4 separate regions of the Homo sapiens genome follow, and regions 1, 2 and 3 are each linked to region 4. The links are contacts of gene promoters, found by promoter capture Hi-C in blood cells and fetal thymus (Javierre and others, 2016). All regions are on one chromosome and are shown on one strand. The core of a region is centred on a gene start or on the middle of the fragment in contact, and the rest is flanking DNA. Distances in the headings are between cores, read along the strand shown. Region 1 has its middle 81 kb from the start of SGIP1. Region 2 overlaps IL23R (interleukin 23 receptor). Region 3 overlaps C1orf141 (chromosome 1 open reading frame 141). Region 4 holds the start of DYNLT5 (dynein light chain Tctex-type family member 5).

Region 1 (6,033 bases), core at 1,071-3,570, 300 kb before region 4:
GTGAAGCCTCTCGGGGAAAATCTGTTCCATGTCTGTCTCCTAGTTTCTGGAGTTACCAGTAATCTTCATCACTCTAACCTCTGCCTCCTGCGTCATTACACAGCATCTCCCTGTGTGTCTGGGTCTCTGTGTCTCCTCTCCTCTAACAAGGATACCAGCCTTATTGGATTAGGGACCCACCCTACTCCAGCATGACCTCATCTTAATTATATGTTAACTTAATTACATTTGCAACAACCTTATTTCCAAATACAGTCATATTTGGAGGTTCTGGGAAGCACATGACTTTTAGGGGACACTATCCAACACAGTACATGGGTGTTTGGTTTAAATCTTGGCTCTGCTACCAATTAGCTACGTAAACTTGAACAAGCTAGTGGCTATTTTGAGCACCCTGTTTTCTTATCTGTAAAGTGAGGACAAGAATACTCACTCCATAGACCTTTTGTGAGGATTACTGTGAAGGGCTGTGCTTGTGCCTATTGCAGAGTAAATACTTAGCAGGAGAGAGCTATTATTTTTGTTTTCACTGTCAGAAAAAATTTTTTTTAACAAATTTAAAGACAGAGAAAAAAGAATCACCTTGTCAGTGGACCAAAACATGCCATTTAAACAAAGCAAGCTTTGGGAAGCACCATGTCAACCTAACATTCGTTTCTCTCTCACATTATATTTAGTACCTAGTAAAAAACCTAATTTAGCTCAGGATATACTAGGTTCTAGTTAACTGATTGTTTCTGATGCAGGAGATAACATTTGCATCTATTTCAGTCTCAGGCTAAGAGGCTCAGAAAAGATACACAATTTTAGCTAAGAGTACCTGCCTAATCTAAAAGTATCTATTGCTACATTTTTTCATTTTTTTTTTCCTACTCTGCACAAGCTTGACTTTCCAGTTCATTTTAACTTGATGTCAAGTATATCCAAGGCCTTTTGGTTAAGAGAAGGGAGCCGTATAATCTACTTGACAGAAAATAGCTTCCTTATCAACCTAATTAAATTTCTCTTCATTAAGGTTGCATATTATGGATTTAAAGATATGTTATCTGGGAAGGTTATGATACTAACTTATAAGAAATTATTAACATTTTAGGATGTATTATTTTTCCAATAAATTAGACCCTTAAGAGGGCAGTTCTTTCTGAGGTGAGGAAGGAGGTTCAGGAACATTCCAGAGCCTGGTTCACTTCAGGGTACACTTTTTATCTGGGAAAAGGTAGTGAGAGGGTAACTGAGAGCCTCTGAGAGGCAACAGATTTGCCACCTGAGAAAAAAGCCCCTGAGGCAATGACTGTGTTACTTACATGTGTATAATGTTCCATGTGCTCCTCTGAAAATACCCATGTGGCTTTGTGTACACATATATTTAAAGAATGTGTAAGCAAATATAAGCAGGTTATGAAACATACACACAAAACAAAAAGAAGTTGGGTGCTGGAGACACCCTGCCAGAGCCCACAGTTAAGCTCCCCACATCCCAGCCTGTGATCTGGGCAAGTAACAGAAGTTCATTGGGCCGGTTACATCAGAGCCCCTAGGGTTATTTTAAAGATTAACTTTGTTACTATTGTAAAACACGTAGAATATTGCTTTACACAATATAGGTTTTTAAAACGTCCTTAGTAATTCGCTTTTTTCTTCCTGCCAAAGACATGAAGATGTTGTGCCTCTATTTGTTCTTCATAATCTCATTATGAGTTTTGCTTTGGAACAGTAGGTTATAATCACCTGAGGATTCCCTTTTGAGTTGATGAACAGGATGAAGCTAGCCCGTTTCCAGCTGAATCTACATCAAATTAAGGAAAGCAAAAATATTTTTTAAAGAACAGACTGATGTTTAGTAATGGAAGCAATAGTATTTTAGTAGTGAAAAAAAAAAAAAGGCAGTGCCTGCTATAAAGACTGACAGCCTGAAAAACCTAGTATGTCTCTGTGGGTGGATGCTAACACAGTTCTTTATTTTTATTTATTCATTAATTATGTTGTTTGGTAGAGACTGAGTCTCACTATGTTGCCCAGGCTGGTCTTGAACTCCTGGCCTTAAGCAATCCTCCCACGTCAGCCTCCCAAAGCACTGGAATTACAGGTGTGAGCCATGGTGCCCAGCCCAACAGTTTTTACTAGTACCAAAGTAAAGAAGATTTTTAAAAAGGCATATTCTGTCTTATTGCCGTTGTTTCTAATCAGGAAGGCAAACAATGTAGACAGGAACAAGTTTAACCTTTGGGGGAAGTGTTTGTTTAGTAAATATCACATTGTTTAATCCAAGAAGCCCTTTTCCTTCAATCTGTTAGCAAACAGAGGCCTCCCTGAAAATCAGTGTTGTGCATCTTAAATAAATATCTTGACTGGACCAGACCAGCTGGGTCTGACCACAAGGGGAAGCATATTCTGACATTAGGCTTTCTCTCATCAACAGGTTGGATGTGATGGGCCATTGAAAAAGGGATGATGGGTCCTTAGGTATAAGGAGCTGATGGGCTTATGGAGAGAGCCAGATGTGAATGCATTTTGAATGGGCTGATTCCTTGCAATGTATTTTTTTTCAAATTATTCTATTATCATAATGATCACAAGAAACAATGGTAAGTCCCTGTGTATTTTCAGTCTATATATGCCCTGGGCCCTGTTATTAGCCTCCTCCTTCCCCCAGGATGTGTAGAAACATCAAATAGAGCCTACTAAGTCTCAGACATTATTATAAATAGTTGGATACAACAGTGAGGGCCTCTGACCTCATGGAGTTTACAATCTAGAGAGGAAAGGGGGCTACCCTGGTTTAGGTGTCCAGGGAAAGCATCCCCCGAGAAGTGACCCTTAAGCACAGACATGAATTGGTGATAGAACCATGTGATGAGGGGCTCCAAAGCCAGACTGCTTGAGGTCAAAATCCTGGTTCTGTGTGAAGTTTCCAGAACTTTCTATGTCTTGACTTTCCTATCTGTAAAATGGAGATGAGAGTAATTGCTTCATGGTGTTGCGAGGATTAAATGGTTTAGCAGTATATCGTCAATCATAAGGCCGTATTTTTTCCCTACATTTTGACATCTCAAGATCAAGAACTTCTTAGAATGAATAGGGCTTACACTCACTGATGGGCATGCAGCAGTCCTGATAAAGTGGTTAATGATTGCTTAGGAGCTAAGACAGTTGCTGTCCCAGGTGGCATGACACATTTGCATCTGCTCTGTGCCACAAACCATTAAGGACCATTTGAGGAAGAAACATGAAGCCTGATTGTTGGAAAACATTTTGTGTGACACCCTGTAGTCAGATCTAAGATGCTCAAGTATCAAAACTGGGAAATGGGTGTCAGCAGCTTGGAAGAAAATTCTGGAACTGGAATCCCGGAGTGAAGTATTGGTAAAAAATATGACAGTATGAGTCTCTTCATGGCTCTGACATCATTATGTAGACAAACCCGGACTTTGGCAATTCTGTCAAAACTGATTGAGAATGGGCAGACTCCAAATGTAAAGAAGGCTTAGAAATTGATTAAATAATTTATTTTACTTATATTTTCCTTTTTATGTGTGAACAAGTATGATCTCTAATTTTTAAAATTACATCCAAATAAGGATCATTTTTCAATAAGAACAAATAAAAATTCAAAGTGACAAGAAAGCATGGCTCATATTTAATTGGCCACAGTTTTTTTCTTTCTTAGTGGCTCATAAAATAATAATACATCTTACAAAGGATGCATCTTAGAGTCCATGAAAGGTTGGTGAATCTTTTACAACAGTGCCTGGCAGTAGCAAGCTTTTGGTAAACCATTATCAGTATTTCTCGGTTCTTTTGGGGACAATGGTGCTCACCTCTAAGTTTTACTGCTCAGTGTACATCTCTCACTTTCTAAGCAAATCTCTTCATTAGGCTCTTACTACAATTCATGGAGAAAGGAATAAGAGCTAGCACAGAGGAGGTGCTCAGTAATTATTTATTGATTAAATGAATGAATGACTAGATTCCTGCTAAGCCCCCTCCTATTTCAGAGAGCAAGTGTAAGAAACTTCCATTGCCTCTCTAAGGACTGTCCTTGTCAGAAGCTACCCTAAAATTGTAGGCCTTTCCTCTCTCCACCCAGCACTCCAAGTCATAATTTGCTTTCCAGGATGGTGTGTCTCTGCTGTAGCCTGGGATAGAATGGGGCGGCAGAGGTCCCCCTTTACCCCGCTTTGTGCATTGCATGCTCTCAAAGTCTGGCACATTAAGCTATACAGATATATGCAAATTTATATACTGAAGTCCTGGTATAAATTATAGCTCTGTAAGAATACTCTTCTAGTCGTCTTTCTCTCCACCTTATCGTCTCATTCTTCACCCATCTCTCTCTCTCTCTCTCTCACACACACACACGCACACACACACATAAATAAGCACAGGCATTGAGGGGATATTAAAATAATTCTGAGTTGAGGAGAGAGAGTTCCAAGGAATTCAACAGAGAAACTGGTGAGGGCTTTTGAAAAGCAGATGCTGATCCCTGTCCTCCGTGGGTTTAACTCCAAGGTGGTGAATGCACTTAGAGAAAATTGGGGATTTTGGAGTCATGGATGGAGTCCTGTGCTCTGCTTCTCTTGTGTACTGGGAGGCAGCAAGCACCCATTCCCTATGTCATCATGGTTTTGGGAGTAGAGAGGAGACACTGTCTGAGACTTCCAGGCCCAAGGGCCAGAGGCAGACTCTGAGCTCCTTCACTGGCTGTCAGAGCATTGAGAGGAGCACCGTGCTTCTGGTGCAGCCTAGAGAATCGTGGATGTGACGCTGGAAAGTAAAGGAGCTGACGGTGCCTGGAGGCCAGGGCAATTCCCCCATTATGCTATTGTCAGGAGACTCTGAGAGCCCCCAGAAACCTAAATGCCATAGCAGAGGGAAAAAAAATTGGGAAAAAGTATAAAGGGACAGCATTTTTCCTGAATCACCTAAGAATACCGGGTATGACAAACTTTACTCTTAATTGGCAATGTTGCATCCCATTACTGATGGAGTAGGAACTTAAGGAAAAAGCCATGTTTAGTTCAAGAGGAAAAAAAAAATTTCCTATATGTCTAAGTATGTGGCTTGAATATTCTTACCTGCTGTATGCATACATTCTAAGAAAACTCATTAATCTGGAGGAATTATGGGTGGAAGCAGTGTAGTCTAAACCTATAATGAGAAAGAAAATCTCTTCAATTAGCAAGAAGTTCCCTTGCTCTTGTAGTCAGTTTCTTAAAGGAATATAGACCAAAGGCTTATCCGAATCATGAAAAGAAAACAATATTAATTTCTTGTGAATGTTCTCTTTGATTCCAAAGGAAGAACTCTGGATGCTTTTTATTGTGTGCATTGGGGATTTGAGGGATGCTGGCCATTCTTTTCATAGATGAATTAACATGCTAAAGTAATACCCAGAAAGCTTGTTTCCCTAAAGAAAAAATATATAAACTTAACTATGTAGAAATTCCAGCAAAAAGATTGAAGGACACCAAGGACACCTAAGTAATAGAAATGTGAATTTTGAGAAACAGCAGTGGAATAATTTCCTAAAAGAAATGTCTCAGATGCTAGATGTGAAAGAAGAGGCGAATGCCAAACTGTGGAGTGAAAGCACGAGGATTGGAACAGGAGTGCAAAAGGAGTGTGAGAGTTAAACCCTGGAATTAATGAACAACTCTGAACTTATTCAAGAAGTAATGGATGGTTATATCAACTGGAAATATTTCATTCAATAATAAAAGGTTGTCATAAACAAAATTTTAAAGTAGAACATTAAGAATGGTAGAGTTTTTGTTTTGTTTTGTTTTGTTTTGTTTTGTTTTGTTTTGTTTTGTTTTGTGACGCAGTCTCGCTCTGTCGCCCAGGAGTGCAGTGGCGCGGTTTCAGCTCACTGCAAGCTCTGCCTTCCGATTCACGCCATTCTCCTGCCTCAGCCTCCTGAGTAGCTGGGACTACAGGCACCCGCCACCACGCCCGGCTAACTTTTTGTATATTTAGTAGAGAAGGGGTTTCACCGTATTAGCCAGGATGGTCTCGATGTTTTGACCTTGT
Region 2 (5,726 bases), core at 2,132-4,631, 440 kb after region 4:
TACAAATATCAGAAAACTCAAGTGCTGGCCAGGCGCAGTGGCACACGCTTGTAATCCCAGCACTTTGGGAGGCTGAGGCAGATGGATCACTTGAGGTCCGGAGTTCAAGACCAGCCTGGCCAATATGGTGAAACCCCATCTCTACTAAGAATACAAAAATTAGCAGGGCATGTAATCCCAGCTACTTGGGAGGCTGAGGCAGGAGAATCGCTTGAACCTGGGAGGTGAAGGTTGCAGTGAGCTGAGTTCATGCCATTGCACTCCAGCCTGGGCTACAGAGTGAGACTCCATCTCAAAAAACAAAAAAATAAAAGAAAAATAAAAAAACTCAAGTGCAGTCACTTAAATAGACATGGACTTATTTATATCAGGTCATAATTATATGTAGTAACAGATGGCATGATAATTCAGTAATACCCCAGGGATCTAGGCTCTTTTCCTCTTTCTACTCTGCCATCTTCAGTGTGTTGACCTTAATCTTCAGATGCTGTATCTCCAGGCTTCTTATCCAAGTTCCAGGCAGGAAAAGTGGTAAAGAGCAAAGGAGTTCCTCCTGTGGACTTCGACCTACACTGAGTTGGCCACAACAGTGTCACATGTCTACTCTGTCTGGATGGGAACCTGGCAGAAGGGCATTGTAAATGGAGTTGGATACCGTCATCCAACAGTATCTGCCATAGTTGCTAGCTGTGTAATCTTAGAAGAGTTATTTAGCCTTGCTGAGCCTCAGCCTCCTGTGAAATGAGGATAATTAATGCCACAAAGCTTATAAAAAAGCAAATTATAGGAAGTGACTTGCATATAGGAAATGCTTAGAATTAAGTACAACACAAAATGATGTCTTAGTCCCTTCAGGTGACTATGACAAAGCACCTAGACTGCGTAATTTGTAAAAAACAGAAATTCGTTGCTCACAGTTCTGGAGGCTAGGAAGTCCCAGATCAAGTGTCAACAGATTTTGAAGGTCTGTTCTTCATAGATGGTGACTTCTATATGTTCTCACATAGTAGAAGGGGCCAGGCAGCTCCCTTCAACCTCTTTTATAGGGGCACTAAATTGATTCATGAGGGAAAAGCCCTCATGACTTAACCACTTTCTAAAGGCCCCACCTCTTAATACTATTACATTGGGGTTTAAGTTTCAACATGTAAATTTTGAGGGTACACTAATATTCAGACTATAGCAAAGGATATTATAATATTATGGCCTAAGGGAAACCTGACCGATTTGATTGAGGGAAATATTAATGTAAAGCCATAAAAATTATTATTTATAGGATATTATAGATAATTTTATTCATATATTTTTAAGTAATACAATAATTTTGGAAAAATCTAGAAAGAGATGTTGCATGTGCTCTAATAGAAAGACTTATTTTTTGTATGTCAATAGTACATTTATTCATTCAAACTAGAATGTAGGCTTAATGTGGGCAAGAATTTTTGTTTGATTTTTTCATTGCTATGTTGATTGAATCTAGAATGGGGCCTGACACATAGTAAATGCTCAATAAATATTTGTTGAGTAATTATTCTAGTTGATAACTAGAAATAGACATTTCCTGAATCTCCCCTTCACTGTCTAGTTAAGTAATAATATAAGGTCATATATATTTTATAAATTATTTTTCCCATCTTCTTTCTTAAAATCCAACAATAAACTATAACCAAACTCTGATAAACCTAACCAAGTTCTGAATTGATGGAGGCCAGATTAATGGGATTTTATTACATTCTAAACAGGACATAAAAGATATAAAAGGTTAGAATAAAAGTGAATGTTCTCCTCTAGAAAAGTCAAAGGACTAACTTATAAATATAGACAGGTCAGAAAAGGAAACAAACACCTATTTATCTAATGATTAGTTACAAACAAACTAATGAGTTGAAAAAAATTAGAGAAGAGGGCTGGGCGCAGTGGCTCATGCCTGTAATCCCAGCACTTTGGGAGGCTGAGGCAGGTGGATTGCTTGAGCTCAGGAGTTTGAGACCAACCTGGGCAACATGGCGAAAAATACAAAAAATATAAAAATTTCTACAAAAAATACAAAAACTAGCCAGGCGTGTTGGCGGGTGCCTGGAGTCCAAGCTACTTGGGAAGATGGCTTGAACCCAGGAGGCAGAGGTTGCAGTGAGCCACTGTACTCCAGCCTGGGCGACTTAGCCAGACCCTGTCTCAAAAAAAAAGAAAGAAAAGAGCAAGTCAATTTCCCTAACTACCAGAAAAAATCTTTCCCTCAAGGAGAAAGCTGACTTATAATGAATGTTGTGGTCGAGGTAGTATTATGTTTAAAGGAGCTCTTCTAAACGTTCAGTTATTAGGGTATTTTCCACATTGGTAACTAGGCAGAGATCAGCATGTGCAAGGTTTCACTTCTAACTCATGTGGTTCAGTTTTCCAGTAAAATCACATGTAGAGAGAAGCTTTTTACCTGAGACCACCTACTCATTTCTCCAGTTGCAGAAAGGCAGTGTTTCCCCTATGGCAACATAGGTGCCATCACAGGCCTCCTCATGTTGGGGTGAAGTTGTAAAGTAGAATTTTGTCTGTTTTGCTTCAAGAGCTTTCTTTCTTCCCAGCTCCTTTGCGGTGGCCTCACCAGACAGAGCCTCCTGGCTGTTCACATACCTTCTTTTACCTCCTGTATTTTGCTGTTTCAAAGGGTAATGATAGGGAAAAAAAAAAACCAAAAAAAAAACAAAACCAGTGCTAATAACCATCTCCCTACTGTAGTCCCACTATCTTCAGCAATTTCATGTAAATATATTTTTTATTTATCTTGGAAACACTGGTAATGTCTGGCTCAGTGTATTCTACTCCATAAATATTTGTTGAATAAAAATGCATGAATGATAGCCCTGCATTCTGTTCCATTCAAGTCATCTTAGCAAATATTTATTTAGCATTTGATGGTTTCCTGGAATTGTATTAAACTGTAGATATTTAAAAAAAAGAGATCATCTCTGTGCATGACAAGCTCATAAACAGTTTAGAATAACATCAATGTTGGGATTTTCACGCACCGTAGAAGACCAATAAGGCAAATGTTTTCAGATGCAGTATCATGTTAGAGCCCTTAAATTCAGCGGCCTACTCTGCTAATTCATAAGGCCTGTTTGTTTTTGCCACAGCTTCTCTACATGCATATTTTTAATAACCAGAAAGAGTTCTTAGGTGTGATTCCAAATACTATTTTTAAGGCTACGTTAGGTTTCAGTAATTCCTTTAGGACTCAAAATGTAGTTTATATTTTAGAATCCATTTCCTCACTGATTATGAGCCCAGAGAGCTAATTGTGGCTGGAGACAAACAGAACCTTGCTGACTGATACTGCTTTATATTCATGACCACTAACCTCAACTGGGCCCGGAGAGCCACACAGTAATCCTACTACATTTCACTAGCCAAGTCACTGTCTTGCTAAGCCAGGTCATTGCTTCATTACTTTTTCTGTCATCTCTCCTCTCTAGTATCTTCCCTTCCTCACTCTCTATTGAAGACCTGCTTCCTACTTTCCTGAGAAAACAGAAGCAATGAGAAATACCACAGCCTCCCTCATTGACTAATGCATTGACATCTGTACCCATATAGTTGATCTTTCCTGCTATTGCTATGGATGAATTACCATTGCCCTAAGGTCAACTCTCCACTTGGGTACTAGATCTTATCCTGCCTGCCTACTGGAGGACACTGCTCCAAAACTTTCCTCTCTTCCTTCTGCATTGTCATTGTCTCTGTCTTTACTGGATCATTCCCATTGGCTTTTAAGCATGCTGTAGCCTTTGCCCTTTTGAAAAATATAACCCTCCCTTTGTTCCTGACCTCTACCACCCAATTTCTCTGTTTCTTTTTATGAAAAAAAATCAAAAGAGTTGTCTGCACTGTCTGTCTCTATTTTCTCTCTTCTCTTTTATCTAGTTTAGTCATGTTTTATGTCCTCACCACTCCACTGAAACAGCTCCTGTCAAAGTCACTGATGATTTCCCCATTGCCAGATTGAATGGCTTATTCTCAGTCTTTATCTTACTTATGAAACATTTACTATCCGAGCATTTAATGTAGCTCTTCACTTCCTCCATTTGGCTTCCAGGACAGGACTCCCTTTTGCTGCTCCTCCCACCTTCCTGGAAACTTTATCTCAGTCTCTTTTGCTGATTCATCTTCATTTCAGATAAATTCATAGTGACCCAGAGCTCTATATTTTGTCAGCCTAAAAAAAGACACTAGGGAAGATTATCTTCAAATTTGTTGGGTTTACTTGAGAATATAAATAAGGAGTATAATACAGAATGCATGACATGGCAAGCCAGCAGTGCATTTGGTGAGGGAAAGGATAAAGGGAAGCTTTTATTACCAAAAAGGAATATATGTGAGCTATTTAGGAACAGAGTTCATTAGTTCCAGAGGCTCAAAGCCAGAGTGATTGTCAATTAATAAGTGGAGATGTATTACTGGGTAAGCGGTCTTCCAAAAACATCTTATCTGGATTACTGCAGTCCTAAAGGATGTCTAGTGATAAACCTTATCAAAGCAGGGGATGACTGAAAGGTTTTTAGAAAGTCCTTGGGAACAGTTCTTATCTCAGACATGTAAGCATGGGCCTCTTCTCCTTCAGGCCTTTCTTGCCCTATTTTGTCTGGGTCTGACAAAAGTGATTTCATCCTGGTATGTGCAACTTTCACACCTAGGACCTTTTATTATCTCTATTTACAGTCATTACCTAAAGGATAGCCTTCAAATTTGTGGTTTAAAATTCCTCAATGTATATCTGTGTCTAAATATCTCCACCAAATACAGCTGCCATGTTTCTAACCTGTCATTCAAGGTATCTTGAAGTTAACATTTTCAAAACCAAACACCCAGTTTCCTCTCCCAAGACTTGCATTTTCCATTTCAGTAAATGGCAACTGTATCCTTTGCATTATTCAGGTCAAAATCAGGTAGATTCTCCTGGATTCCTCTCTATTATGGCCTTCATCTAATTGATCAGCAAAACCTTCCGGCTCTATCTTTTAAAATGACCTCACCACCTACACTGCAATCCAAGCCAGATCATCTCTCACTTGGGAGTATAAGAACTTCTAACTGGTCCACTCGCTTCCTCCAGAGTCCCTTATTCATGAGTTTTCACAGTAATCCTTTTCACATGCACCTCAGGCCATGTCACCCTTCTGCTCATGAACCTCCCATTTCATTCAGAGATCAAAGCCAGAGTCCCTCAAGGACTCTATGTGACCTTGCAAGTCTTCTAAACTTTCCCCTCTTCCAAAACTCTCTGATTTTGTCTTTAATCCCTTTCCTAGTAAAACCTCACTGACCTCCTTGCTGCTCTTTGAACAGGCCAAGCAAGGTCCTGCCTCAGGGCCTTTGCATGTTACCTAGAATGCTCTTCCTCCAGAGAGCCACAGGGTTTCCTTATTGCCCTAATGTCACCCTCTCAGATAAGACTTTCCTCATCTCTCTAAAAAACAAAAACCTTAAAACCCACCCCTACTCTCAGAACTGCCTAACCTTTTTACTCCGCTTTAGTTTTCTTCTGAACATTTCTCACCATACATAGATCAGATTCTATATTTATTTGTTTCCACCAAAATGTGTGCTTCATGACAGTTGGGACTTTATCTGTTTTGTTCATTGTAGCCCCAATATCTAAAAATATACTTGGAATATAGTCAGTGTTAAATAAATATTTATTGAATGAGTGATTAAATGAATGAAAGACACTA
Region 3 (5,539 bases), core at 363-2,862, 360 kb after region 4:
AGGCTGGAGTGCAGTGGCACGATCTCAGCTCACTGCAGCCTCTGCCTCCTGGGTTCAAGCGATTCTTCTGCCTAGTCTCCTGAGTAGCTGGGATTACAGGCACGCACCACCATGCCCGGCTAATTTTTGTACGTTTAATAGAGACGGGGTTTCGCCATGTTGGCCAGGCTGGTCTCGAACTCCTGACCTCAGGGGATCCACCCGCCTCGGCCTCCCAAAGTGCTGGGATTAGAGGCGTAAGCCAGCGTGCCCACCCAGCCAGATTCCTAAAATTTCTAACTTGAAAGTAAGTTTCTATTAAGCAAGCTGTTCATACTTGACTTCTAAAAAACAATAACAAGGAAATTCTCAGCATTGAGCTGAAAGGAAACTCAGAGATTTTCTTTCTAGAAGAAAACAACACATAACACTATAAACATAAAAATATATTCCTATTTTGTGAATTGTATAAATTGTCCATTCTGATATTTAACATCTCTTCTTCTTAGTAAGTTCTTTTTTATAGTTCATGGAAATGCTTTTGACAGAGATCAAATTATCAAGAACCTTTAAGACACACATCGGTAAATAATAAAATAAATAAAGCACCCATTAATAAATCAAAGAAGTAAATATGTTACACAAAGCATTACCTGTTGACTCACTTTCTTTATTTTTTACATTTGTTTGAATAAAGAATGGTCTTAAATTTGACTTTTCAAAATTACTCTTTCTAGGTTCAGGCTCACATTTGAAAGAGACATGCCTGGAAGAAATAAAAATTAATTTAAATTAAAATAATGAGAAAAATTACAAAATAAATCTAAAAAATAAATTTGGAGGAATGTGAAGTCCTAGTTATACAGACTTGGATGTTATGTTAATGTTGTCACAGTACCAAGTGTGAAACATTGGACTGATTAAATAGGAGCTGAAAATATTAGTTTTAGTCGTTTAAAGTGGAGGGGGACAGAAAACTACTTGCTGCTGTGATAGCATTGAGGGCACTCCAAGAAACTTATTCACAAGCTGATTAACCCTTTCAGAAAAATATGCTGGAAATAACTTCAGTGAGACATTGAGGACATTACTGGACCTGAATCAAAGTGGTGGGACATAGAGTTAGGGAATTCAGGTACTAGAAAGGATCACAGCATTTATTTATTGTAAAGACAAATTATCCTCCTCTAAATTACTTAACTGGCTAGTGATGGTATATTAGAAAATTAATAGTATTACATAATTGATACTCTTTCTGACCTCTAAATGCTAGAACAACCCATGACTCAGCCCTCAGACCTCAGATACTCACCCTTAGTTGGTATAAGCCAGTCCCACACTGTAACTGTTGTCTATAGGCCAATGTCCCAAATTTATAGTCCAGACTCTAACCTCTTCTCTGAACTTCAGATTTATATATCCAACTGCCCACATGACTCCTGCACTTAGCTTAATTATAAGTATCTTGAACTTAACATATTCAAAACCAAATTATTGATTCCACCATCCCCTTCCTGATCTTCTCCTCACCCAGGTTTCCCCATCTCCATTCAACCAGAGGGTTAGGCCAAAAAGTTTGCAGAAATCTTTTATTTCTCTTTCTCTCTTTTTCCACTCCCAACCTATCAGCAAATACTGTGTCTTTCTTTGAAATAGATTCCAAATCCAAACACCTCTTTCCTCATTGCTCCCAACCAAATCCAAGACCCCTTTATTTTTCATCTGAACCCCTTCCCTATGTCTCTAGCCTTCTTCTGTTTGCTCTCCCTGCTATTACACTTGTCCTCAACATTCTCTTCGCAATACAGCCATAGCAACACTTGTAAAATACAAATGTGACTATCATTTCCTTCAACTGTTTCCTATCAGACTTGATTAAAATTCAAAATGCTCCCTAACAGACAGAAACTTTTCCCCCAGTTCTCATTTCTAAGTAGCAGAATTTCCACTGAATGCCACTCCAGGCCTCTCTCTGCATACCCCTTCACCTCTCAGCTCCACATGAACGCTGAGCAAATTTTCTACCTGTTTGGTTCAGGGAAAGGAATTTAGGCTCCACTTAAGGACCTTGCTCTTTCCTCTGCCTGTAGTATTCTCCCCACAAGGGGTTGACGTGGCCTACTCTTTCATTTCAGTCTCCACTCACATTTCCACCTCTTCAGAAAGAACTTTCCAGCCCACCCCACTTCCCCCATCTAAAATAGTAATCCCTGTTGATTTTAATTCCCTTAATTTACTATATTTTCCTTTATAGAATTCATCACTGGTAAATTTATATTATATATTCATTTGTTTATTTAGTTTATTATCTCTCTCCCCATCTTATCCTAGATTGTAAACTCTGAGGGCACACTATTTATGTGTTTTATTCACTGTGGTATTTTAGCACCTATAGCATGACTGGTACATAGTACATGTTTAATATTCATTGAATGCCTAATAGGCCGGGCGCGGTGGCTAATGCCTGTAATCCCAACACTTTGAGAGGCTGAGGGGGGTGGATTACCTGAGGTCAGTAGTTCAAGACCAGCCTGGCCAACATGGCGAAACCCCATCTCTACTAAAAATACAAAAATTAGCTGGGTGTGGTGGCATGTGCCTCTAGTCCCAGCTACTCGGGAGGCTGAGGCAGGAGAATTGCTTGAATCCAGGAGGCAGAGGTTGCAGTGAGCTGAGATCGTGCCACTGCACTCCAGCCTGGGTGACAGAGAGAGATTCTGTCTCGAAAGAAAAAAAAAATTATTGAATGCATAAGATTTTTGGTAAATTTTTATTGAACTTTCTTATCATCGTACTTTTTAATGGGTTTTCAGTTTGTTCTCTCTTTTAAAAATAATTATGTAATCTCCGTAAAACAATTTATCTGTTCCTTTCAAAAAATGTATCTTATGTTCTTATTAATATCATTGGGGAGGACTTCTAGGAGAGTGTAGTATACTAGTGAGAATGGGCATTGTTCTGTTTCTAACTTGAATGAGAATGAGTCAAGGGTTTCTAAGGATGATGCTGGCTATATAGTCTTGTTAAGGAGGTAATATTTTATCCTTATCTTAAAAATACTTATATTGCTAAAGTATGTTTTTCAAATTCATTTGCAGAGTATATAAAGATATTCAGATATGAATTTCCTTGTGGTGAACCAAAGAGCATAGGCTTTGAAGTTAGACCTTACTTTGCATCTTGACTCTATGTGAACTTCCATAGAATATTGAATACTCTGAATCTCAGTCCTTCATGTGTCAAATAAGGTTAATAGTTATCTCAAGGGATTGTTGTAAGAATTAAGTAAAATAAAGTTTAGAAAGTGATCAACAAAATGTCATAGAGATAAATGAGGATACTCTTTCTTATTCCTGAAATTTACTCCACTTAGTCATAGTGGAGTAATATTTATTTAATATAGTGTTGGATTTCATTTTGTTAAAATAAGTTGTTGAGTGGCAATTATTCCGTTGCCTTAGAATTGGTGACCAGGTGACTTTTTACTCCACAGCTGAGTAAAAAGGAGCAATACATACTCTGTATTCTACAAAGATCCACCAATACTTGGAGCAAGAGATTCTTTTAGGCCTTCAAATAAAAGAAAACTGGTGGGGGAAAAAAGAAAAATATCAGAATTGTGAGTCATTGACCTGTTAGGGTCTGCTGTGGCTTTTTCCTCTTTTCTCAATGTGGGAGGGGCAGGGATGCTTCCTCCACAAAACTGATGAGGGAGTTCCCAAAGAATCACTCATAGAGACTGGCATCTTATTCCTCAGTTGCACATCTGTTAGACACCACACTTGCTGATTTGCCCCATGTCAAATTTGGAGTGAGTGGAATAAGCAAGTAAAGTAGACACCCTGCACCACACTGTTTGGCATGGCCAGGATACTTGAGTTTCTGGGGAAATGCTGGGGACTGAATGTTTGTATCCCCCTCAAATTCAAATGCTGAAGCTTAAATCTCTAACGTTATGGTATTTGGAAGTGGGAGCTTTGGGAGATAATTAGGTTATGAGGGTATAGCCTCATGAAAAGGATTTGTGTTCTTCTAAGAAGAGTTGGTCTAACTCCTTCTCTCCCTGTCTCTGTATTTGCCTTTCTCTCTATCTCCTCATGACGTGAAGATACAAAGAAACAGCTGTCTGCAAACCAGGAAGAATACCCTCACCAGACACCCAATCTGCTGGAACTTTGATCTTGGACTTCCTGGCCTCGAGAATTGTGAGAAACAAATTTCTGTTGTTTAAGCCACCCAGGCTATGGTGTGCTGTTGTAGCAGCCCATACTAAGACAGAAATTAGTAATGAGCAGTGGGGTGCTGCTGTAACAAGTACTTGAATATGTGGCAGTGGCTTTGGAATTTGTTAATGGGTAGAGGCTGGAAGAGTTTGGAAGTGCATGCTAGAAAATGCTGACATTGCCATGAAGGAGATTTTAAAGGTGACTTTGGTGAGGGCTTAAAAAGAAAAGAGAAAAGCTTCCATTTTCTTAGAGACTCCATAAATAATGATGAACAAAATGTTGGTAGAAATATGGATGGTAAGGGCCATTCTGATGAGATCTCAGATGGAAGTAAATAACATGTTATTGGAAACTGGAGGAAAGGTGGTGCTTGTTATAAAATGTCAAAGAACTTGGCTTAATTGTGTTTGTGTTTTAGTATTTTGTGGAATGCAGAACTTGCAGGCAATGAAATTGGATAGTTAGCTGACGTTAGTTCTAAGCAAAGTGTTGAGGAGTGATTTGGTTCCTACTGATGTTTATAGTAAAATGCAAGAGGAAAGAAATGAATTGAAGATGAAATTATTAAGGAAAAAGGAACCAGAAGTTAAAGATTTGAAAAATTTTCAGCCTGCTCATATTACAAAAGAATGAAAAAGTATGCTTGGGAGAGAACACTAAAGGTATAGTAAGTTGACTGTTTGATAGGTAGGTCAGTGTGGATGTGTAACAAGGACCAAATCAGCCATCTCAACAGAAGCCAGGAATAGAGATGGGATTATACCAGCAGAAACACTGCCAGCTGGGACTAAGGGAAACAGAGAAAGTGGGAAAAAATGAAAGAAAACTGTTGAACTTCTTAGATTCTACAGGACCAGATCATAGAGCTACTGTATGCAGCTGTTCAGCTATAACTGTGCACTATTTTTCAAGACAAGGGAAGAAGGACCTCAAAAGCAATTCAAAGATAATCAGGGATGCCACTCCCACAACAGGCCCAGAGGGCATGTGCTCAGGGGACAGGGCTGCCTCCACTTCTATTTCAAAGGGTAAGACCCCTGCCCAGTGGAGCCATGGGTGTGCAACTCCCGCTAGGCAGAGCTTCAGAGGTGAGACCCCTGCCTGAGTGGGTTCTGGAGGCAGGACCACTAGTCTAGTGAATCTAGAGGGCAGAGCTTTGAACCAAAGAGGATTATTCTCAAACCTTAGGATCTCATAGAGTTTGCTTGCATGGTTTTAGAATTATTCAGGACCTGTCATTTCTCCCTTCTTTTTTATCTCTCCCTTTTGGAATGAGAATGTCTATCCTACACCTATCCCATCAACGTAGCTTGGAAACAAACAACTTGTTTGCC
Region 4 (5,706 bases), core at 1,804-4,303:
TGAGATTCTATACTCTTTTAATGAGCATTTCATAGGGTTTTTTTTTTGCTGTTTTTTTTTCTTTTTTTGCTTTGCTTTACTTTGCCAATCAGTTACTTTTATACCAAATTAACGAAGTTTCTTTAAAAACTTCCTGGTTAAATTGTCTGTTATCATATAGAAAAGAATCAAACTGAATCACTTTACATTTCTCTAAAGATAGTTCAGTTTTTAATCCATCCAGAGTTTGTGAATCAGCCTGATAGATCATAAGCCATTTATAATTTTTAAACGTTCCATTGAATGAGTATATCATACAAATGTTAATTCCATCTCGCTCATTCAGTTTTACATTACTTTTATGAATTTTTTTTCTCGCAAAGTAAATGCTTGATGTTATTCATTCACCATCACTCTAAGGTATTTTAAATCATACAACAAGTAACTATCACAAGAACCACTGTCCCAAGATCCAAAGTCAGATTTTTTTCCCTTTTCAAGTTGCTAGAATGATAATTCATATAGCTGTGTTGATTTTTCAGGTCAGAATTTAGTTCTTGCTTTGTTAAATGGACATACATGAAAGAGATTGGCTCCTATCTAATTCATATTCTCTCTCTCTCTCTCTCTCTTTCTCTGTGTGTGTGTGGGGGTGTGTGTGTGTGTGTGTGTGTGTGTGTGTGTCTCTTTCCTCTCTGTCTAAGGGGAATTGGAAAATTGCTGCTGAATAATTTTTCTTGAAAAAGCCAAGTGTTGATATGATGATATATTAATCTTATCTATGAACAGAGCTTCACCACAGGCCAAGCAGTAATGTATACAGCTGGCTTTTTAAGCTGTTTGAACACTATTGTTTTCGATTAAAAAGAGTTTTTGTTTGTTTTTCACTTGTATAGTAAAAGATCATATGAATTAAATACTCGGATATTAATTTTCATTCTTACTAAGTGGCCATGTAAGGCATTGATTTTTTTTAAACTTGAACAATGCAAGAATCTAGGAATCTCAGAAAGATTTTGCTGTGTTTCTATAGGTAATGAAATCCTGTCAATTAAGGAAAATGCTGTGTGTAATTTGATTTGGTGGTAGCCTTTATTTAGAGCTCTCTTTGATCTATGTAGCAAAAATACACTAAATTTCTTTTTAATCTTGTACTAAGTACATAATTTCACAAAAATACCTTGGGCATAAAATACTTACAAAACTGTGAATTAAAATACTCAAGATACTTTCAAAATTTAGTCAAAATGTTGATTCCCAGCCTTTTTCCTACACGTCTATTTCAAAAGAGTATACTTTTTTCTGACAGCCATTACTGCTTAGTCTGTAATGAAAGCTTTACTGCTTCTATGCTGTGCTCAAGAGAAAACCAACAACGGAAGCGAAGACTTACTTGCTCCTTCACAGAATTGCAGCAAAGCTCTCTGCTGGGCAATGGTGACAGGAAAGTGTGTAATTGACTTGTTGAAGATAATCATGAGACCATCTTAACATTACTTGCCTTATAAGTTAGAAATAGTATGGATATCACTCTTTGTAAATAATAATTTTTGTAAATGTTTTTTGTTCATAATTTTCCCAATCACCTATTTCACAAAATCCTGAATATGCAATTATTTATTATGACACGTTACTGCAACTAGGGCTCCCATTCCAGAACAAAGTTTAATTCTATATGTAAGTTGTTACTGAAATGTGATTTCTTTTTCTGGAAAATAAATGAAAAATATGAAAATAAATTGAATTGTGAATATCTTTTGCTGTCAGCCTCTTAAAATTTTACCCGCATTTCTGGAAAACTTCATTCCATGTTTAGGGTAGGGATGGTGGGCCAAAGGTCTGTCAAAGGTCAAGGGTTAAGAGTTAGACAAATTTCAGCTCTGTGATTTAAATATCGACTTGAGCATGTTACTCAACGATTCTACATTTCCTTATCTTAAAAAAAAATAGAGTAATGTCCCCTATGTCATAGTCACTGAACAAATTCAATGAGATAATGTTTATTCATCACCTAGCAGTTCCTATCTAGTCCATAGTAGATATTCAATCAACAATCCTTTCCTGTTCTTATCTTTCTGTGAGTAGAGATTGGGATGGGCAAAAATATCTATTTCTCTTCTTCCAACACTATCCTAACACTGTGCTCCACCGGAATCCCAATGTATTACTGTCAGCTAATGCTAATTCCAGCAGGACACTCATCAAGAGCCATGCCCTTGGCTAGATGCTTGGAGGCATCTTGTTTCTGCTTCCAATGATTGCCCACTACAGGAGGGTCCCTATAGTGTTTATTTTGTTTGCTTTTGGTTTGGGGAGGCCCAAACCAGGCTTAGGCTGGGGATAGTCGCTGAAGAAGAGGAAAAGCCCATTCATACCAGCAGGTAGGTCCTCAACCCCAAACAGCCTCATTTCAAAGCTTCTTAGACATTAACAGGCTCAGAAGAGTCTTGTTAAGGAAAGCGAAGGAACCCAGCCCGGTTTGTAACACATTGGAGTTAAGACCATGAGTTTCAGGGGCCTTGGGCATATTATTTAACATTTTAGAATCTCAATTTTCCAAATCCTTTAAAGGGAAAACATTCCTTTCTTGACAGAGTTATTGGGACGACTAAATCCCAATGTTTGTCGGTATCTGGGGTATCTGGCCAATGTAAGTGCTCATTTACCTCCACATTCCACCGCCTGTGCCTTGGAGGGGGAACGTGCGAAGCAGCGTTAGGAGCCGGGAAAAGGGCAGGGCTACTTTACTTTGTCTTTGCGCTTCGGATTTCCTGTGCTAGGAAACCGCAGCACTTCCCACTCCTGCCCCTGATGTCTGCGGGAAAAGGAACTTGATGAGGGGCCCTAGGGGTGCAAATGTCTTTAGTCCCAAATGTCTTCCTCGCTACACAATGAACCAGTTCCCCTCCAGCTCGCCGCCAACCCAGGACGCAGCCCGGCTCAGAGTGACCCCCAGTGGGCAGTGAAGATGAGATCCTCTACATCCTTAGGGCAGCTCAGAGGGCCACTCAGCGGCCAAGTCCGGCCGGGGAGGGCCGAGGGCTCTGTTTGAGGTCACCCTGGAGACCGGCCTCAGAGTCCAGGGAGAGTGCGCGGGCGGCCGCCGGCTGAATGAAGCCTGGGACGCGGGAGCCGCGCCGCGCGCAGTGTCTGCAGTGCCGGAGGTCTGGGAGGCTCCGGGCGAAGCCTCCCTGCTGCAGGTAGGGTCGCCTCTCTCTGCAGCGCGTCTGGACCCCAAAGGAAGGATAGGGGGCAAGGGATCGGCCCTTTGTTGAGAAATGGCCCTACTTGGCCCCGATCTCTCCGCCACCTTATTCCTCCTCTCCCCAACACATAAGAAAAAATGATCCCAAATTTGGGAACTGAAAGTCGGTCCCAACGGTTCGTCCCCTGCCCCATTGCATGGCTGGGGGCTGGGCTTCAAGAGTGATGGCCAACGCAGAGCCGGCCAGCAAGGTCATCCCCTGACCCGGGGCGGTCTTCCTGTGGCTGGCCGCACCCATGAGGACCTCCAGGTCCCAACTCTGGCCTTTCTTGGGGAGGGGGCGGCCTGCAGGGCAGCTTTGGAAACAGCTGAGGCCGAGATGGGTCTATGTGGCTTTGCAGCAAAACCTGAATGACCCACCTAATCAGGCTGTGTGTCTTTCCACACTCATAAACACACTCACCTTCGTACACACGAACACAGACACACTTATACACACAGGCACCTGCACACACAGAGATGCACACTCACAGGTACACACTCAAGGACGCTCACACTCACGTGCACACACACACCACGCTGCCTGCCTCACCCACACACAGCACCTCTGCTCTGACATTGATGCCACTGGGTTTTAGGGTATGTTCTTGTGTGCCCTACCTACTCAACTGCCAGCTCCTTGAAGGCATGGATTCTCTTCTATTTTTATGCTTTGGTGTCTAGCACAGTATTTCCTTATCGGGGCTCTCACATTTATAGATTATGAAATAATTTAAATGAATACTTAAATTTGTAGGTAGACAATGAGGGCATTATTAGAGTTATAGTCCAAGTTCTGGGAAGTCCATTGCTACTACCAGCTTTTTAACAAGTATTAGTAGGAAGGAGGGAGTTTTCCAATAAATTATTTATTTAAAAGTTAAGTCCTATTTGCTCTTTACAAACTATGTAAATGTTGCTCGAGAAAACAAAACAAACAACAAAAAATCTTTGGGAAAGCAAGGTTAATTTTAATTTTTATTTATTTATTTATTTTCTAGCTCCCTACCCCTAATTTTATTTTTTAAAGTCATGGTGGGTCAGGCACAGTGGTTGATGCCTGTAATTCCAGCACTTTGGGAGGCCAAGGCAGGAGGATCACTTAAGGCCAGGAGATTAAGGCCAGCCTGGGCAACACAGAAAGATCTTGTCTCTACAAAAATGTTTAAAAATTAGCTAGGCATGGTGGTGCAGGCCTGTAGTCCTAGCTACTAGGGAGGCTGAGGTGGGTGGACCGCTTGAGCCCAGGAGTTTGAAGTTACGGTGAGCTATGATCATGCCACTGCACTCCAGCCTGGGTAACAAGAGCTAGATCCTGTCTCTAAAATAATAAAATAGGCCAGGTAGAGTGGCTCATGCCTGTAATCCCAGCACTTTGGGAGGCTGAAGCAGGATTGCTTGATCCCAGGAGTTCAAGACCAGCCTGGGCAACATAGACCCTATCTCTACAAAAAATTAAAAATTAGCCCAGCTTGATGGCATACACCTGCAGTCCCAGCTACTCAGGTGGCTGAGTTGGGAGGAACGCTTGAGCCCAGGTGTTTGGGGCAGTAGTGAGCCATGATCATGCCACTGCACTCCAACCTGGGTGACAGAACAAGACCCTGTCTCAAAAATAAAATATAACAGTGACAGCAAATATTAATTAGCAAAGTTGTATTATGGTTACATTTGGGGGGCAATACAAATATTGGTTTCTGATGTAGGATAGCATCTTTCTGCTATACATGCATATCTTTTGTCAATGACCTCCGTCTTCATCAGCTAAGCATTTTTGCTATAGCTTAATATCTGCTTATGTAAATAATTATACTATTGCATAAATAAGCATTTTCAGAGTTATCATAGTTCCAGTTTCACTGATCAGAATAACAACAAATTCTATATATTGCTCTTGAGGAAACCCCACTTTCCTGTTCAAAAATGGTAGGAAAACTATCTGTGTACTTTGAGATTAGTCCCTGTTATACTAACTAAAATGTTTCCGGATCTTTCTTTTGCTATTTTACAAAAGTCTTCTTCCATAGGTTATGATGATGTCAGACAATGCTAAAGGCAGAGCAGCTCATTCATGGAAGAAAAGAGGGAGTATTTCTTCTCTAAGTAATCATGAATTTTGGCGAAAGGAAATTCATGGGCGCATCAAAGAGTGAGTAACTGTCTAAAATTGTAAATTCATTTATTGAATAAATAGGTTCGTAATGTTTATTAGGAGAAAAAAACACTTCCTCGGGGACATAAAAAGAGATAAAATGGGCAAGTACAAGGTGCAGGTCATCTTTAGGGGCCATATTTAAAAAGAAAGAGAAAGAGAGAAAGCTTAAGTGATAAGTTAATCCTAGCAGCATTTTTGCTATTTCAAAAATCATCCCAAAAAACCCTCTGCTCAAAAGAAACACCACATGCAATGTAAACCAGACACGCTTATATGTCTTTTGAGTTCTTCTCCTCAATATTTTATAACATAGGTTTTGCATTTTTGT

What was found. The method cuts DNA at HindIII sites, captures the fragments that hold promoters and counts their contacts. A CHiCAGO score of 5 or more calls a contact.
Region 1: a fragment that was not itself captured here is called in contact with the fragment with the promoter of DYNLT5 in region 4 in 1 of 17 cell types (endothelial precursors); the score reaches 7.4 in endothelial precursors.
Region 2: a contact is called between a fragment that was not itself captured here and the fragment with the promoter of DYNLT5 in region 4, in 2 of 17 cell types (fetal thymus and naive CD8 T cells). The highest score is 5.8, in fetal thymus.
Region 3: a contact is called between a fragment that was not itself captured here and the fragment with the promoter of DYNLT5 in region 4, in 2 of 17 cell types (fetal thymus and activated CD4 T cells). The highest score is 7.4, in fetal thymus.

What each region holds. Positions count from the first base shown.
Region 1 is chr1:66,450,036-66,456,068 of GRCh38, forward strand. No RefSeq gene overlaps it. Among named protein-coding and RNA genes, the nearest start is that of SGIP1, 81 kb to the right of the region's middle. The HindIII fragment of the contact is 2,879 bases long and covers 882-3,760 here.
Region 2 is chr1:67,187,758-67,193,483 of GRCh38, forward strand. The region is part of intron 4 of IL23R (interleukin 23 receptor); the gene reads left to right. Among named protein-coding and RNA genes, the nearest start is that of IL23R, 24 kb to the left of the region's middle. The HindIII fragment of the contact is 1,921 bases long and covers 2,422-4,342 here.
Region 3 is chr1:67,114,720-67,120,258 of GRCh38, forward strand. C1orf141 (chromosome 1 open reading frame 141) reads right to left here. Exons shown (of 8, transcript NM_001276351.2): 5 at 633-745. Among named protein-coding and RNA genes, the nearest start is that of C1orf141, 17 kb to the right of the region's middle. The HindIII fragment of the contact is 4,606 bases long and covers 1-3,915 here.
Region 4 is chr1:66,749,406-66,755,111 of GRCh38, forward strand. DYNLT5 (dynein light chain Tctex-type family member 5) reads left to right here and starts at 3,054. Exons shown (of 5, transcript NM_152665.3): 1 at 3,054-3,179; 2 at 5,251-5,372. The coding sequence starts at 5,254. It overlaps SGIP1 (SH3GL interacting endocytic adaptor 1), which reads left to right. Exons shown (of 25, transcript NM_032291.4): 25 at 1-1,734. The HindIII fragment of the contact is 3,147 bases long and covers 2,394-5,540 here.